2 separate regions of the Homo sapiens genome follow, and region 1 is linked to region 2. Evidence: promoter capture Hi-C in human tissues and cell types (Jung and others, 2019). All regions are on one chromosome and are shown on one strand. The core of a region is centred on a gene start or on the middle of the fragment in contact, and the rest is flanking DNA. Distances in the headings are between cores, read along the strand shown.

The links. Contacts are between HindIII fragments. The study calls those that stand out against the background at their distance.
Region 1: a fragment that was not itself captured here is called in contact with the fragment with the promoter of KY in region 2 in 1 of the 25 tissues and cell types used here (dorsolateral prefrontal cortex).

The regions. Positions count from the first base shown.
Region 1 is chr3:136,615,454-136,619,528 of GRCh38, forward strand. All of the region lies in intron 3 of STAG1 (STAG1 cohesin complex component), which reads right to left. Among named protein-coding and RNA genes, the nearest start is that of STAG1, 130 kb to the right of the region's middle. The HindIII fragment of the contact is 6,695 bases long and covers 1-4,075 here.
Region 2 is chr3:134,648,912-134,652,668 of GRCh38, forward strand. KY (kyphoscoliosis peptidase) reads right to left here and starts at 2,111. Exons shown (of 11, transcript NM_178554.6): 1 at 1,914-2,111. The coding sequence starts at 2,049. It also overlaps a transcript of CEP63 not described here. The HindIII fragment of the contact is 13,352 bases long and covers 1-3,757 here.

The sequences.
Region 1 (4,075 bases), core at 940-3,439, 2.0 Mb after region 2:
AGTGGGGGCACTGCCTGCTTTTTGAATAAGAAAAAACATATTCGTGGCCGGTCGGTGGCTCACGCCTGTAATCCCAGCACTTTGGGAGGCCGAGGCAGGCAGATCACGAGGTCAGGAGATTGAGACCATCCTGGCTAACACGGTGAAACCCCATCTCTACTAAAAATACAAAAAATTATCCGGGCGTGATGGTGGGCACCTGTAGTCCCAGCTACTTGGGAGGCTGAGGCAGGGGAATGGTGTGAACCTGGGAGGCGGAGCTTGCAGTGAGCCAAGGTCGTGCCACTGCACTCCAGCCTGGGCAATAGAGCAAGACTCCAAATCAAAAAAAAAAAGAAAATGAAAAAAAAGAAAAAACATATTCCCACCCGGCACTATTAAAAAGGATGAAATAGAAAAAGACAAAGACCAAAGGTAGGAAGCTAACAGTACAGCTGCCAATAAAGTAAGCCCTAAAGATACAAACTTGGGAAATGTAAAATAAAGGACAGATGTGGAAGACACAGTGAGCTTATAAAGTAAAAGTCATCAGACGCTGGGCGCAGTGGCTCGCACCTGTAATCCCAGCACTTTGGGAGGCCAAGGCGGGTGGATCACGAGGTCAGGAGATCAAGACCATCCTGGTTAACACGGTGAAACCCCGTCTCTACTAAAAATACAAAAAAAGTAGCCAGGCATGGTGGTGGGCACCTGTCGTCCCAGCTACTCGGGAGGCTGAGGCAGGAGAATGGCATGAACCTGGGAGGCGGAACTTGCAGTGAGCCGAGATCGCGCCACTGCACTCCAGCCTGGGCGACAGAGCAAGACTCCGTCTCAAAAAAAAAAAAAAAGTCATCAGACCTCAAATTTCAATAGATAAAGGAGACAGGACAAGAGACTTGGAGATGAGGAAATGTAACAATGACTCAGGTCTTAATTCTGTGTTCTTGGAACTGTGGTAGTCTTTAACATAATTAAGGAAGTCAGAACTAAAAACTAGTCTAGTCAGTAGAAGAAAATTCTAAATGAAAAATTAAGAAAACAACAAAGACAGCTTAAAAAGAAGTCCAACTAATATACTTCCTAAAGTGATCACAAAAGAGTGCACATTTAAGCTCCAAAAAAATTTTTTATAGAGATCTTTGTTTCTTAGAAAAATAAAAATAGAAAAAGTAGTACAGAAAATTATAAATAGGCTGGGCCCAGTGCCTCATGCCTGTAATCCAGCACTTTAGGAGTCCTACTGGGCAGACTGCTTGAGCCGAGGAGTTTGAGACCAGCCTGGGCAACATGACGAAACCTTGCCTCTACAAAAACTTAGCCGGTGTGGTGATGCATGACTGTAGTCCCACTCCAAAGGCTGAGGTGGGAGAATCACTTGAACCTGGGAAATCGAATCTGTGGTGAGCTGTGATCATACCACCTTTATTCACAAATAATGAACAATATAGAAAGTACTGATTTAAACTTCACCACTTAAAAATTAGAAAAGACTTAACCATTATAAGCAGTAACATAGCATATACCCATATATTTTGCTGTGTGAAAGGCAATAATATATGTCAAAAGCTTTCAAAACAAACAGCATATACTAACAAACTTCACTTCTAGAAATTTAGGATTAAAAAAAACAATGGCTATACAGCAAAACTTACTTGCAAAACAGTTCATGTCAGCATGGTTTAGAATAGTTAAGAATTTTTAACATAAATGCTCAACATGGCACCAACTCTGCAATTGGTTTGTCAGTGTCCCACATTAACTCCCTGGGCCTGGTCATTCAGTTTCCAGCCTCTGCTGAGTCCCTCATACTATTCCAAGTGTAGCAGGGGAAATTGAGAGGCCCTTCCTCAAGCTCTGGTCTTAATGGAGGTACAAGGGAGACATCTACAGGGAACCATGAGATCATTGGTGTTGGAAATGCTAAGTCAGTCCTTCTTTAGGCTGGATGTTGGTAGTGGTCATCACAAAGTCCATATATTTTATATCCAGGCCTTCACCTGGCCTATGGACTTATACCCATGTGCCTGGTTTATCAGTTCAATGGTTCTTCAGCCCATTACAGATAAGGAGCTATACTGAAGATCAAGGAGGAACCACTGGAGTCTGAATGTTCCTGAAAGATTGACTTAGTCCTAGCTTAGTCCTCATAAAACCTGGTAACAACAGGGTTGGTACTTTTACTCTCTATTTTACAGGAGTTATAACAGATTGTTAAAGGACAACCAAGAAAGGACAAAAGAAGTGACAGTCAGAGGTTGAGAGGAGCCAGAAAAAATCTAGCAGACATCTGCCACCACATTGTAACATGGTGGTTCCTATCACAACGCTGGGTCAAAAAGAGATTGATTTGATTTATAATGCTAAACCAAGAGGGTGGGCAAATAAAAATTTTGGTATTTAAAAGAAAAAAAAACTTTGGAATTTGAATATTATGAAATTCCCAACAGTCTACATTAAACTACCAAATAATTTTAAAGATCCAATTTTTATAAGTGACCTGTTAACTTACCCTTCTGGTACTCATTAATCTTTTGTTGTGCATTCTCCATCTTCTATGTATGAATAGACATTTAAAAATAAAAACTGTATCTTTTTATTGTTAGATATGAGTTCTAAATTTCTTTTCAAAGAAAAGTATGTTCAATTCTTTGCCTTCTACTTTTAAACTTAACTTCCTCATAAAGCAACCTTTTCCAATTACCTGCTCCACCCTGACTCATTCCAATCACCTGCTCCACCCTGACTCATTCCGATCACCTGCTCTGTCATAACCATTTTTCCCACCAAACCACTCACCCCGTCACTCTCTTTAAATTAGCCAATCGGAATTAGTTTAGCCTGGGTGGTCTAACCCTAGCCAATAAGGGAATGACACAGCAGCAGGCGCCACATGCGTCAGGGATAAGAACCCCTTCCCCTCCCTTGTCCAAGTGTGCACTCACCATTGTTCCATCTGTAAGGGCGCACCCTTCTATAGAAGTACCTTGCCTTGCTGAGAATTAAAAGAACATTTTATATTCAAGTGCTATTTCTTTTGCAGCACTGAAACTTTATATACAACATTATTTACCTCTCCTACTCAGCCTATGCAAATATGAAAGTTAAATAATGTTGAGAATATAGAAGTGCTGGTTCTCACTAAGAGAAAAAAATCCATAATAAAACACGAGAGACTAAAGAGGGGTTAAGGTTAGAGAGGTGCTGATTTACATGACAACTACAAGCAACATAAAATCCTGGACTAGACCCTGATTCAGGAAAAGAATAGTTTTTCTTTTCTTTAAGGGATTAGATTATGACAACTGGCAAAATCTAAATGAGATGTATAGATATCATTCTTATATCAATATTATTTTCATATTTTCATAACTGTACTGTGGTTATGTAAGAAAAAATGTCCTTGACTGCAAAGAAATACACACTAAACTATTAGAAATAAAGTGCTGCGAAGAGATATTCTACAAAACAATACTGAATTTAAAAAAAAAGTAACATCATGTCTGCAACTTACTCCAAAACAGTTCAAAACTAATAGATACCAAAATACTTATCTCTGCATATGTCATAAAAAATCCATATTTACATGTGTATATGTGTGTACATACATAGAGGAGAAGACAGAAGCAAAGAGTGGGAATATGATAAAGCAAATGTAGTAAAATGCTAACATTAGGACAATGTGCATGAAGGACAGCTGACAATTCTTCATAGAATTCTTAGAATCCTTCTGTGTTGGAAATTATTTCAAAATGAAAAATTTTTTAAACACCAAAGGGCAGGGGGTGGGGCAGTGCTTATTTAACAAAATTAAAACACCATTCACTCATTAAACATTTACTGAACACTTACTGCAGGTCAGACACTAGTAAATAGCAGAAGACACACTAGATAAAAATTCCTGCCTTCACACAACTTACATTCCAGTTGTAGGAGAGAGACAATAAGCAAGTAAGTAAAATGTATGTTACGTTAGCGCAAGGGGAAAACAGTTAAGTCATATTGGGTAGAGGTGGCGATTTGCAATGTTAAACACATCTTTAGGCCTGGCGTGGTGGCTCACGCCTGTAATCCCAATACTTTGTGAGGCTGAGGC
Region 2 (3,757 bases), core at 861-3,360:
ACCTGGAAGTGAGCAAGAGTTTGTTTTATATCTTGCACCCATGGGAGGCTTTGGAACAAGCTGGTCTTATTGGGCATTTTCCTCCCTTAGGCTGTTTTTCGAGGAAAGGGTCTGCAGGCTGGCTTTGCCTGGGGTCTCCTGAATATCATCTCTGCCCACCAGGCATCAAAAGCCATGCACTTTTCCTCTTCTCTGCTCTGGTTGTGAATAAGTGACACAGATCTCTACACTGTCATTCATAGCATCGGTGAGAAACGGCCATCAGAAAAATATTTGGAGAAAAAGTTCAGCAGAAAGGGCCCAGCCATTAGGGGTCTTTTTTTCTCTGTCATAGTCACTAGTGTGCATACATGAGTCTGGAGCCATGGCGAGTTTGTGCTAGGTGTTGGGCACCTCTCAGGGCAGTCCTGATGCCTGGTGTTTCCTGGGCTTCTCTGCATTCTTTGCCCTTTCTAGTGTCAGAGCCTTTAGAAGTGATGTGATCAGAGAGGATTGGGAGTAGGGGACTCGTGGGCTGACCTGGAACTAGGCCTCGCCACACACTGGAGAAGGCATTCTGGACTGTGGTACATGTATTCAGAGCAGTCTCATTTCTATCAAGAAGTTGATGCCCTCTGTTGACTTTCTAACTACAAATACCCTGGGCAGGCCATTTCCCCTTCTCCCAAGAGTAGGTCTGATAACTAAAGAGCCAACGAATCCAAACAACTCCTGCTTCAGTCAGGAATCAGCCCTGAGACTAGAGCGCCTGTCAACATACTCAGCCCTCTAGATTCTGTTTCTTTCCCCTGCCTGCCTTCCCAAGAGGTTCCCAGGGCTCTGGAGGCAGCTCCAGCCTATGTGGCTGGTAGTGGCAAGGCCATCCACAGCAGCATTACTTAAGCAAGGCAGGTGGAAGGTGGATGTTCAATGAGCACAGAGGCTCTGGGGACAGAAGAACCAAGGGCAGAGCAGCAGCAGGAATTCCAAGGAGCTCCAGAGCTGGAGGGGAGGAGAGAGGCAGAAGTCATTCTCCTGCATGGGCTGTCAGGCCTAACTCCTAAAGAACTGGCCCGCAGTCCGCCTAGTGCATCCTCACACCAGCCTCGGAGACAGCTTGCCATCCAGGACCCTGAGGTTCTCTGGCTTTTCAGGGGCTTATTTAACCTCCATTATCATCCCTCTGTACTCCATTCACATTGTGTTCTGTCGTCTGGAGAACAGAGAGGCCCGGATCCTGCTTTCCACAATCACTCTATAAACAGTCACTTTATTTTACCAATCTACAACTTACAAATTTACCCAGAAAGTGTGTAGGACAAGTAAAATTGATGGATAAGTTCAAGTGGAGACAGCAGGTTTCAAATCTTACCCTATCCAAACCTGCGTTCCTTTTACGCCTTTCATGCCTTCCATCTATAGGAGGCTGGGAGAAAGTCTCAAGAAAGGAGAAACTGAGGCTGTAAATTGTGCAAGGCCACACAGGGAGCTCCCCATCTAAAAGTCTGACTCAGCCCAAAGGTTTCCCAGCGTCCCCTGTGCCCTGCAGTGTGCTGTGGGGGGGAGCAGGCCTCTGCTACCCATGAGTCAGCCCTGAGGCTCTGGCCGCCTTCCTCCAGGGTATCTTCCAATCTTGCTCTACACCCGTTAGGGAGTGGCTGGGAGGAAAAAGACTCCCAGGGGTGACGGAAGCACCCACAGGCCTGCACAGGGAGTGAAACTGGGGCAATCACGGGGCTGCGCGTTGCCACGGGACTGCGCGTTGCCACGGGACGCCGGTGCCACTGCGGGGAAGCGACGGCAGCCATGGGGGAGAGGGTCGGGTTCGCTGACCTCGTTCGGGGGAGCAATGGGCGCCCCCCGGCGGGCAGGCCCTTGTGGCAAGGAGGCCAAGGTGCCGGGGGACCCGGGGACCCGGGTCGGGCGCGCGTTACCTCCTCCGCGCTGCAGCAGCGAGCTCGGGTTCGCCTGCTGGTCTGAGAGCGTACCCTGTGCGGCGCGCCGCTTCTCCGAGTGCACGATCAGCAGCATGTCGATAGATACAGCGTTGATGTCCTTCTTCAGCTCCATGATGCCGCCTCCTTTCCGACCTGGGCGCCGCGGCCGCACGCTAGGCTGCTTGCGCTGCAAATGGCCCCGTGCGCGCAGCTGCCCCACACGGGAGAGGGCGAGGGCGCGGAAGAGGGCGCTCCCCCGCCGCTGGAGCCGCAGGGCGCTGCTTTTCGCTGACTCTGCCAAACACGCCATTAGGGCCCGCCTGGGAGGGCGCTACCCTAATGAAGCGGCTCTAAGTCACCTTTGAAAGGAAATCCCCGGGCCCAAGCCTTGACCTGCACCGGGGCCATAGTCAGCAGGGGCGGCCGGTCCAGAGCCTCCCTCCCTGCGCCCCTGCCTCCCGCCCGGTGCACTTGAAGCGCTGGTCCTGGGCTCCAGGGCTTCTCTGGCTGAGCGCTGCCTCATCCCCACGGTCTCCGGAGGGTTCTCGAGAGGGCTGGAGCCGACCTCCCACGAGAAGCCCCTGGCAAATACAGAAATCGCACAGTGCTGTCAACATTGAGAGTAGATTCAGGAAAAGGAAAGACAGCAAAGGGGCTCCAGATTGAATTGCAAGATGTGCAGAGATTGTCCAAGTTTTGGCCTCGACCTCACTCCTTCCCTGGGTTGGTTTTGGAGGTTGACAGCTCTCTCTCCCTAGGAGGGAGTTGGGTGGGGTGTTGGAGTCAGGAGCTCCCCCCAGTTACGGCCCCTGTAGAACTTGGAACATGCCCATTGAGTATCAAGCTAACGATCCTCTTTGATCTGAAACGAAAGTCTTAAAGTCTCGGTTCGTTCTAGAAGCCTGGCTCCTGCCCTGTGGGGAAGGAGGGAGGGGGAGAGGAGGAGGCTGGGGCACAGGGAGCTGGACCTGAGAAGCCTTCTATTTTTAGCCCGGCCTGGCCTGCCCAGCCAACAGCAGCAGGGGTTTGGCTGTAGGTCTCAGGAGTGTTTACATAGGCTTCTGCCTGGTACCCCTGGGCACTACGGGCCCACCCTGCTGGGGGCGTTCCCCTAATTCGAGTTTCTACTGTTAATAAATGCACCCCCACATGGAGGCCTTTGCTCTGGGAGCCCTCCCCGCATTGGAGTGTATGGACCCCACCTTGTAGCATGGTCCTGAGAGTTCCCAGATCCTCCTTGGAGCAGCCTGTGTCACACAGACTGCATTCCAGTACCAGCTCCATCACTTCCTGGCTGTGTGACCTTGGACCAGCCATTTTCCCTCCACCTTCTCACCCTTATCACTGGGTTGATAAAAATTTCTCACATGGCTGTTGTGAGAATGGCATGAATGTAAGGCGCCTGGTGTATAGAAAGTGGTCTTCATATGGTAGCTGTCATTCTTACTTCATTTTAAGGGTGAGGAAAGGGAAAGATGGAGTGACAAGTGACTGATGGAGCAGAGAAGCAGGAGAGATGTCACAGCCACACTCTGAGATTCTGAAGGTCTTCCTCCAATAACAGTGGCTCAGAGTTTGGTTCCGTGTAAAGGCTGTTGTCTTATTGCATTACCAGCGCCCCCCCCCACCACCCCACCCCCTGACTCACCCACTGGGCATCTGATGGAAGGAGAGGTTGTTGGCTTCCAGTAATGTTGAACTGGAGTCCCTAGAGAGCTGAGGCCATAGACAGGCAAGTGGAGATGGCTGACTTCCAAGGCAGGTTTCCTTCTGCTAAAGTGAGTCTTGTCCTGTCTGTATGTGTGCAGGTACACACACACACACACACACGCGCGCGCGCA